3 separate regions of the Homo sapiens genome follow, and regions 1 and 2 are each linked to region 3. The links are contacts of gene promoters, found by promoter capture Hi-C in blood cells and fetal thymus (Javierre and others, 2016). All regions are on one chromosome and are shown on one strand. Each heading gives the region's core, a stretch centred on a gene start or on the middle of the fragment in contact. The rest is flanking DNA. Distances are from core to core; before and after follow the strand shown. Region 1 overlaps ZCCHC7 (zinc finger CCHC-type containing 7). Region 2 overlaps ZBTB5 (zinc finger and BTB domain containing 5). Region 3 holds the start of PAX5 (paired box 5).

Region 1 (3,215 bases), core at 392-2,891, 310 kb after region 3:
TTGCTCACTTCTCAGTTACCTGATCTTAGAACAATATCTGGCATGTATTAGGCCCTCAATAATTATTTTTTGAACAAATTAATGAAGGAATGCATGCATACACTCATGCCATGGGCCCAGCACTCTGGTAAATCTCCCTGATGGAGGCATCCTTCGACTTGTATTCTGCTCTACTTGTCCCCTTCCCTTCTTGCATACACAGCCTAGTTTCTAGGAAAAGTGACCTATGTTCTGTTCTTCAGCAGCTTTCTACTTATAATAAATCCATTACAATCTGGCTTGTACCTCTACCCCTCGAAAGAAACTACTCACAATAGTTTCTCCACTTGCCAACAACTTCCTATTTGCTAAGTCCAGTGGATTTCATAGTCTTCATCTTATATAACCCATCAGTAGCTTTTAACAGTTTCTTCCTTGAAACATCCATTCTGCCTTCATATCTATGACATCATCTCTTTTGTTTTTATTTCTCTTAAGCCATGTATGCTTGTGGCTGCAATTTGATGTCACGTCAAATAATATAGCTGTCTTTGTGGGTGGAAAATCATTTCTGCTTAATAATTTCATGTCTTCACAGTGTTCTATCTGAAGAAATTTGTGAACCACTGCAATAAGGGATACATGGCTTACATGCGTACCTGTTAAAACTCTGTTTAGGCTGGGTGTGGTGGCTCATGCCTGTAATCCCAGCATTTGGGGAGGCTGAGGCAGGCGGATCACTTGAAGTCAGGATCAACCTGACCAACATGGCAAAACCTCATCTCTACTAAAAATACAAAAATTAGCCAGGCGTGCTGGCATGTGCCTGTAATCCCAGCTACTCTGAAGGCTGAGGCAGGAGGACAACTTGAACCCAGGAGGCCGAGGTTGCAGTGAGCCGAGATCGTGCCACTGTGCTGCAGCCTGAGTGACAGAGCAAGACTCCATCTCAAAAAAAAAAAAAAAACTCTTGTTTAATGACTTTTAGCTAGTCTTAATTTATGAACCCCATTTTTAATTGCAGAATATAAAACGGTTGTTATTTTTATTATATCTCAATTGATAATACCTGAGGTTGTAAATTCCATTTTGTGTAGCTTTCAGTAGGAAAGATTATTGAGGTTATTGTTTTGCTACAGTTTTTCATTTTAGGGAATAAGAGCTGAAAGTAAAGTTGTTTGAAGTAGTTTTTTTTGTTTTGGTTTGGTTTGGTTTGGTTTGGTTTGGGTTTGCGTTTGGGTTTTGTTTTTTGCGACAGAGTTTCGCTCTTGTTGCCCAGGCTAGAGTGCAATGGCACGATCTCTGCTCACTGCAACCTCCGCCTCCCAGGTTCAAGTGATTCTCCTGCCTCAGCCTCCTGAGTAGCTGGGATTACAGGCATGCACCACCACGCCTAGCTAATTTTTGTATTTTTAGTAGAAATGAGGCTTCTCTATGTTGGTCAGGATGGTCTCAAACTCCTGACGTCAGGTGATCCACCCACCTTGGCCTCCCAAAGTACAGGGATTATAGGCATGAGCCACTGTGCCTGACCTGAAGAAGATTTTTATAACCTATTTATTATTTTCCTATATCAAGGAAATAAGACCTTTACAAAACACCTGTTTGCAACATTAAAAACAAAATTAGGGGGCCTGGGCACGTTGGCTGTAATCTCAGTACTTTGGGAGGCGAAGGCAAGCAATTCACCTGAGCCCAGGAGTTTGAGACCAGCCTAGGCAACATGGCAAAACCCCATCTCTACTAAAAATAGAAAAAATAGCTGGGCATGGTGGCAAGCACCTATGGTCCCAGCTACTCAGGAGGCTGAAACCCAAGGATTGCTTGAGCCCAGGAGGTGGTGTTGTGGTGAGCTGAGATTGTGCTGCTGCACTCCAGCCTGAGCGACAAAGCGAGACGCTGTCTCAAAGAAAAAACAAAATTAGGGCTGGCCATGGTGGCTCATGCCTGCAGTCTCAGCACTTTAGGAGGCCAAGGTGAAAGGATCACTTGACCCCAGGAGTTCCAGACCAGTCTGGGCAACATAGTGAGTCCCTGTCTCTACCAAAAATTTAAAAAACAATAATATAAAAATTAAAGTAGCCAGGCGTAGTGGTGCACTCCTGTGGTCTCAGCTACCTGGGAGGCTGAACTGGGAGGATCGCCTGAGCCTGGGAGGTCGAGGCTGCAGTGAGCCATGATTGTGCCTCTGTACTCCACCTTGGGCAACAGGGGAAGACCCTGTCCAAAAAAAAAATTAGTTGGCAGACTAGCACTGTTTGTTAAAGACTTTCAATAAACAACATAAGAAATAAAGTGATCCACGTTTAAGCCGATCCTTAACTTTTCTTCCAGTCTCCACAAAGCGTGGGGGTGTGCAGGGGTTAGGTTTTTCTCCCCCTGTTTACAGCCACCACCTCCTCAGAGGTCTGTGTCCATCATCTCCTTTCCTCCTCTGGTTTCAACTTCTCCATCTCCATTATCTTTCCCAGATGTTCAAGTCTTTCCCATTCTATAAACAGATTCCACCAAATCCCCTTCCTGGGTACTGCTTCATCTTATTCTGCCGCTTCATGCTTCTCAATATATAACTTCTCTCTCCTACAACTTCCATTCAATTTTTTAAAACATTTTTTGTTCTGAAATAATAGGTTAGTGCAAAGGTAATTGAGGTTCTTGCTATTAAATGGCAGAAACTGCAATTACAGTTACCTTTGCACCAACCTAATATACATACTGAAAAGTATGTAAAATACATGTGCAAAAGAATAAATTAGTTATGTAATACACACACAAGTTAACTATCGCCATGTTGAAGTAACAGAAAATTTCAGCTATGCCAATATCCTGTGTGCTGTTTCTCCTCACTGGAAGTAACCTGGCTTTAAAGAAAAAAAAAATCCGGGTTAAGTTCACAGATCCTGGCTTTTATGAGTAATGATTTCTTTGCTCTTTTTGTAGTTTTACCACCTTTGTATGCATTACTTTACTGTTCATCCTGCTGCCTTGTACTCTTTCTAGAATATCTCAGAATTTTCACAGTAAGGTTATCTGTGAGCAGTTGCCACTTCAAGTGGATGTTTCTCAGTCCTAATCTCACTAGGCCTCTCTGCTATATTTAACATTGTAGATCAGTTCATCCTTCTTGAAACAACTCTAAAGTCTGTTACTGTATTCTCCTATGTCTCTGCATCCTTTAACCTTCCCTTCTATGTCCATTTCACAGGCTCCTCTGCCCACCCCTTAAACATTGATGT
Region 2 (3,471 bases), core at 906-3,405, 410 kb after region 3:
AGCACTAAAAGCTAGAAGATGACAGTTCCTTCAAAATTATCCAAGAAAATGATTTCCAACTTAGAATGCCACACCCAGCTAAACTATTAATCAATTAGGATAAACTAAGGCATTTTCAGATAAGAACCCAAAGGTTTATCCTTTCTCAGGAGGCGACTAAGATTGTAGGAAACAGGAGACCCACCAGAGAAGACAGGCAAAGGGAATCCCAAGGATGATGATGAAGCTCCAGATGACAACTAGGCAGCAGGCCTGGAGAGCAAAAGCAGTCAGACTGGAGCAGGAAGGACTCCAAGGAGTGGGTCTCCAAGGGGGGTGGGAAAAAAAGGAATGGATAGATAACCTGATGTGACTGGGAGTGCTTGTAATTTACCAGTCCTATCCAAGTGTGCAGATAGGTCATTAAAAAAAACAAGAAGTTTTTAAATGGATCAATGATTAACTCCAGGAAAAAAAAAAAAGGTTGTTTACTCACAGGACACAATATGTAGTTCATTCGTAGACAATATTTACACAGTCATAAAATATGTACACTAAACCGAATGTGAGATATTGGGAGGATGAGAGAAAGCAACTTTGCATGGGGGAAGAGGGTAGAGGAGATGAGGTATAATAAAGTTAAATCTTCACTTTCCTTATTAATCTAGAAATACAGTCTGAAATAGGTTATCTCAAAAAATAGTAATTTGGCATGTTATTTAGAAGTATAGAAGTTAACCAACTTGGTGGTTCACGCCTGTAATCCCAGCGCTTTGGGAGACCGAGGTAGGTGGGTCCCTTGAGCCCCCAGGAGTTCAAGACCAGCCTGGGCAACATGGGGCAAAACCCCATCTCTTACTAAAAATACAAAAACAATTAGCCAGGCATGGTGGTATGTGCCTGCAGTCCCAGCTACTTGGGAGGCTGAGGGGGATCACTTGAGCCCGGAGTCAGAACTTGCAGTGAGCAGAGATCACGTCACTGCACTCTAATCTGGGAGACAGAGTGAGACCCTGTCAAAAAAAAAAAAAGAAAAAAGAAATATGGAAGTCAATAGTGGAAGAAACAGCTGAAATAATTGAAAGTGGTTGCCTCTGAGGAGTGGGTAATTGATGGGGAAAAGGATGGGACAGGGGACTGCTGTTTTGTTGTTGTTTTTGTTTCTTTTTACCTATAAGCCTTATGGAACTATAGGCTGGGTGTGGTAGCTCATGGCTGTAATCCTAACCCTTTGGGAGACTGAGGCGGGCAGATTGTTTGAGCTCAGGAGTTCGAGACCACCTTAGGCAACATGGCAAAACCCCATCTCAACTAAAAATGCAAAAAGTAGCCGGCCATGGTGGCGAGTGCCTGCCATGTAGTCCCAGTGTACTTGGGAGGCTAAGGTGGGAAGACTGCTTCAGCCCAGGGGGCAGAGGTTATAGAGAGCAAAGATCGCTGCACTGCACTGCAACCTGGGCGACAGAGCAAGTCTCTGTCTCAAATAAATAAATACATAAAAATGTATACACATATATTTATAAAATTAAATTTAAAAAAGGTAGATCTATGATATTCTAAAGGGATATACCTGAGATCTTTGCAAATCTCCAAAATTCACAAATACCATCATGGCATTTCATAAGAAGGCAGCATGGGTGCCAAGTGGCTCCCCAGGCCCAACCACTTGCTCTGATGTCCCAGCCATACAGCCTTACAGGCCAAAGTTGGTCAGGATCCTGGGAAATAACTGAAATGGCAAACTAAGTCCACAAAATTCAAGGGTCTACTGTGGCGACTGAGACTATTATGCTATTCAGCTATACTTGGAAAGTTAACTATCGGAAAAGCAAATGCCTCAAAGCAGCAGACACATGTTGGCCATATTGTTTTGCCTATGTTTGTTGAGCTTTGATGAACTTTCAACAACAAAATAGATCACACATACTTTCCCACTGAGGTGTCTGTTCTTTGCTATCATGTATGAGAGATCAGATCTCCAAAGATGCAGCCACTGCCACATCCCTTCTTGCTTTACCAAGCTTTCCGGCAGAAAGCAGAGAGCCAGCAGTGGCAGGCAGCAGCACACACATCCCGGGTCCCCACCCGACTCACTCAGGGCCCACAGAGCTTAAGGCTTTGGGGAGATTAAACAAAATGCAATTACTGCTCATTAAGTCTATAGCCCTGCCTTAGAAAGTACACTCATATATGAATAAGTGCCAAGTTCCAGAGGGGTAATTATTTTGTAGCAGTAACAGGGAAGAAACATTCTGGTTTGAGGAATAAAATAAACAGGGAATTGTGGTGGGAAGTTGTACAAGACTCAGAGTTGCTCTTCTAAGCGACCATGGAAGCTTGGGCTCAACAGGCAAAAACAAGGAACACTAGACACTCAGCGTTACTGCTTTCTCTCCTACAGTGGGGAATAGACCCAGTGTATTAGTCTGTTTTCAACTGCTATAAAGAAATACCCAAGACTGGGTGATTTATAAAGGAAAGAGGTTTAATTGACTCACAGTTCTGCATGGCTAAGGTGGCCTCAGGAAACTTACAATCATGGTGGAAGGCAAAGGGAAAGCAAGGACCTTCTTCACATGGTGGCAGAAGAGTGTGAGTGTGTGAAGGAGAAACTGTCACTTATAAAACCACCAGATGTTGTGAGAACTCACTATCAGGAGAACAGCATGGGGGAAACCACCCCCAGGATCCAATCACCTCCTTCCCTTCATGTGGGGATTCAATTTGAGATGAGATTTGGGTTGGGACAGAGCCAAGCCATATCACCCAGCATTGTAGTAACAGTCTCACTGGTGACAGTAACAGAGGTAATGGTAGTGGTAATAAAATATATATTTTTTACTGTGCTTTTTTTTTGAGACAGGGTTTCACCCTGTTGCCCAGGCTAGAGTACAGTGGCATGATCATAGCTCACTGCAGCTTTGAACTCCTGGCTTCAAGCAATCCTCCTGCCAGCCTGGGATTACAGGTATAATAACAGTAATTACTGAGAGCCTGACAGTCATTATGCTAAGTACTTTTAATTTACATTATTTCTAATCTTCAAAACAACAGTGGCAGGTGGGAATTATTTTCCTGAGTTAATAGGTGAGGGGGGCCATAAAAGACTGACTTCACAAATAAATAGTATTTCAACTAGGCATACTGATTTAAAAGGGCACTAATATTCTGCTCAATGCTTCTTTTTTTTTTTTTTTAGATAAGCAAAAGAACTTATATGAGAAAAATGGCTTACTTAAAAATTACGGGGCTGGGCATGGTGGCTCATATCTGTAATTCCCAGTACTTTGGAAGGCCAAGATGGGAAGATTACCTGAGCCTAGGAGTTGGAGAACAGCCTAGGCAATATGGCAAGCCCTCATCTCTAAAATAAATAAATAAACAATTTTTTTAAATTGTGGTCCCAGAAACACCATTTTGAGGAAATTTTCCAAGAGCCAGGGGATCTTTGAAAAGAGGCTACTGAGGTAGCTAAACACAACCCCAACAAAG
Region 3 (3,276 bases), core at 38-2,537:
AAAACCTGAGGACACAGTGTGTGTGTGTCTGTGTGTACACACAAATACACACGCCAGTGTCAGAGGCTTGTCTAGGTGAAAGTGAATGTAGGCTGGGGGTCCCTAGAAATGTCACAACTAACCCTACAGGTGTCCGCTGTCATCTGCAAGGTTGTGCCTGCCACAGGAGACCTGTTTGTACAAATGGTAGCCTGAACAGTGCTCACTGCACACCAAGAGGCTGCATGCCCTGAATTCACACCTTCATTCCTGGTCCTATCTCCCAATAGAATGGACACTGGGCCTTACAATGCACATGCTAAACACCACGGATCTCCATAGGCCCCAGACCCACGTCTAGGAGTTTGCCTAGAGACACAATGTGAACATTGGCGTGTATGCATCGGACAGCCGTTGACATCCAAAAATGGAAAGGTCAGTGTAGCCACTTCTTTCTCACATCCAAAAATCACTTGGGATATAACAGGTGAATGCAGACCCTTTAAATAGTGGATGTACACTCAGATATTTCCGAATTACATAAATAACACTCATAGTAGACACACATTTTGGATACCCAAAAGAATATACACAAGTACTAACTTATAAACACACACGAATACCCCACGAGTATAAAGATACACACACACACACACACACACACACACAGGCAAACAACTTTTGGACACAAACTCATATATTTTTACATCTTTTAAAAATACATATACTGTAATGAACACACTGAGTCCCTTATATAAACACACAGGCCCTAACTTGCAGACCCCCGGAAGGACGCCAGCGTGAACATTCAGAAACAGAGAAAAACACAGACAAACTCACAGATATTTGGACTGATGCAGAAGTGTGTGAACAGATAGGTGAAAAAACATAACAAACACGCCGCAGTTAGACAGTCTCTACGAAAATGCGGCGCGCCCCCTCCTCCTCCAGGGTCACCCTGCGTGGGGACCAAGGCCTGGCCGTGTCCCGGAGTTTGCACATCTGGAGCCCGTATCGCGGTCCTACCTGTCCTGCTGGTCCGAGGAGTCGGATAATTTTTCTCTAAATCCATTTTGATTTTTCAGGACTTGATGGAATGGACAGGGAAAAGTTTCCACTTTTTTGTGCCTTTTTTTTTCTTTTTTTTTTTTTTTTTTTTTTTTTTTTGGTGCCAGGGGCCGCTCACAGGTCGGAATAATTCAAGCCTTCCGCTCCCCCGCCGAGCTGGGGTAGCTGATCACTGAGCTGAAACTAAACGTTTTAGGTGGAAAAAAAGCGTCCGAAGGCACCGTGAAATGATTAAGGAACTAAAGAGCTTCTCGCCATGTGAGATCATGTCCTGTTCTCGCCAACATCACAAGATGTCCCCAGACACGCCGCGCCCCCAGCGCGCCGCCCCACACTGCCGGCCCGGAGCGAGGAAAGGGTAGGCGCTGCGCGGCCGGGCCTGCTCAGCGCGCCAGACGTGGCGGACCCGGCCCGGCCGGAGTAGAGCGGGAAGCCGGGAGAGCAGCAGTGCTGCTGCCGCGCCGCCCCAGACTTTTATAGGGGTTGGGGGGAGGGAAGGAAGGCTTCAGCCTGCGCCGGGCGCTAGCCAGCGCACCTACGGGAAGGGGCAGACCGAAGCGGAGCCCGGGAGCCCGGGTCTTCCAGCCGCACCTTCTATTAAGACATGCGCTTGGGGGTCGCGGCCCTCTGCGCTGTGCGCGGGGCCTGTGACATCTCCATGTGCAAACCCCGCTGCTTAGACGAGCGCAGGCCGGGTTTTTGTTTTTGAAGAAATTAACTGCTCGGCCAAGCAGGTGCTTTTGAAAGGGGTTGCAAAGGCTGGCAGTGTTGCCAGGCACCGAGGCGACGTTCCGGTTTACTCCGATTCACCCCTAGGGCGGCGCCCGACCCCAGGGTTCCCAGCCATCCAACCCCCACCCCAATTTGTTGGGGTCCTGACTATTGCTGGGCCCCTGACCCTAGGGCAGCGCCAGATCCCTAAAGCCCCCAGGTCCCATCCAGTCTTCTAGTCCCAGAACCCCTCCCCACATCAAGTTCCATTCTGGCCCAGAGCATGGAGGTTAAGCTGTGAAATACTGGAGATGAAATCCGGGCTTCCGCTTTGGAGCACCCGGGCAGAGCAGAACATCTCAGTAGTTTCTGGAGATTGGCGGGAGTTCCAGACACCTTACCCCGGCCCATAAGTGGAATCGCATTGCCCTCGAGCCCTGAGACGTTGTGGAGTCCCAGAGCCCCAGGACTTGATTCCAGAGAGGAAATCAGATCCACAGAGACCGAGCAGAGGTGTGGCATGTCCAGCCCTCTCTCTTCGGGCCAGACTCAAGCCTCCCCTCCCTGTTCCCCTCCCCAGCCTTGAGTTAGTTCAGCTGCTGGGCCTAGCCACTGAAAGCCTGTGGGGCCCTGCAGCGGGGTGGTCGCAGGGGAAAGGTTCTCCAGGGCGGGGGAGCGCTCCGTAGGAGGACTCCTGGCCCGCCGGACAATGGCAGTTTTGGAGAGTGAATCGTCCTCAGCAAGAGTGTTGTTTGTTTTTTGGAGGGGGTGGTCACGAGGCTGGGTCGCAACCTAGGGGGAAGAGCCTAGAGCTCGAGGAAAGGGGGGCCCCCGGCGGCAACTGGACATCACATATCCACTGAGCAGATTTCGCCACAATCGGAAATGTGGCTGTGGATTCCCGGGCGGCCCCCCCACCAAGTGGTCTGCGCAGTTCCCCAGCGCCGCCTCCTCCCTGCAGCCTGCGGGCCCGTGTCCCTACCCCGAGATTTGATTTTTGGCCATCTCCGAGTGCTCGACTCTTTCCCTCCGCAGCCCAGCCCCAGCCCAGGCTTCCCGCCCTCCCGCCTCGCCCGCGCCGGGAGGCAGCGCCTGGGAGGAGCGGCCTGTCCGCGCCTGGAGATCAAAAGCCCTCCCGGAATTGACATTTCACCCCGGGCTGGGGGCGGGGGGTGTTGGTGTTTTGTTGTTGTTGTTGTTTCCATTTAGAGGGCTTGTTTTGTTTTTGTTTGTTTTCTGTGAGTTTTCATTTTTCCATGGGATATTCTTTTGTTTCGGGTGTTTTGCGTGTTGTTTTTTCGTGGGATTGATTTTAGCGGGTTTTGCTCTGTAAGTCCTGGTCTTTGGGGTGAGTTTTGATTTTGTGTAATTTTGTACTTTGTCCTTGTAGGCTGTCTTTTTGTGTGTCGTTTGTAAGGCTTTTCCTTCTCCGCGGTGTTTAGATGTGTTTTGATTTGGTGTGAGTGGGTGTCGTCTGTGTGTGTGTTGCCTTAGGGAATTTCGTGTTGTGTGTGTTTT

Evidence for each region. The method cuts DNA at HindIII sites, captures the fragments that hold promoters and counts their contacts. A CHiCAGO score of 5 or more calls a contact.
Region 1: a fragment that was not itself captured here is called in contact with the fragment with the promoter of PAX5 in region 3 in 5 of 17 cell types (total B cells, naive B cells, activated CD4 T cells and 2 more); the score reaches 18.1 in total B cells.
Region 2: a contact is called between a fragment that was not itself captured here and the fragment with the promoter of PAX5 in region 3, in 1 of 17 cell types (total B cells). The highest score is 5.7, in total B cells.

The regions. Positions count from the first base shown.
Region 1 is chr9:37,344,790-37,348,004 of GRCh38, forward strand. The region is part of intron 6 of ZCCHC7 (zinc finger CCHC-type containing 7); the gene reads left to right. Among named protein-coding and RNA genes, the nearest start is that of LINC01627, 48 kb to the right of the region's middle. The HindIII fragment of the contact is 8,473 bases long and covers 1-3,215 here.
Region 2 is chr9:37,444,647-37,448,117 of GRCh38, forward strand. All of the region lies in intron 1 of ZBTB5 (zinc finger and BTB domain containing 5), which reads right to left. Among named protein-coding and RNA genes, the nearest start is that of ZBTB5, 19 kb to the right of the region's middle. The HindIII fragment of the contact is 315 bases long and covers 1,999-2,313 here.
Region 3 is chr9:37,032,981-37,036,256 of GRCh38, forward strand. It overlaps PAX5 (paired box 5), which reads right to left and starts at 1,288. Exons shown (of 10, transcript NM_016734.3): 1 at 1,006-1,288. The coding sequence starts at 1,051. RefSeq lists silencers at 1,054-1,174, 1,441-1,620, 2,701-2,860, a promoter at 1,434-1,872 and an enhancer at 1,951-2,000. The HindIII fragment of the contact is 10,408 bases long and covers 1-3,276 here.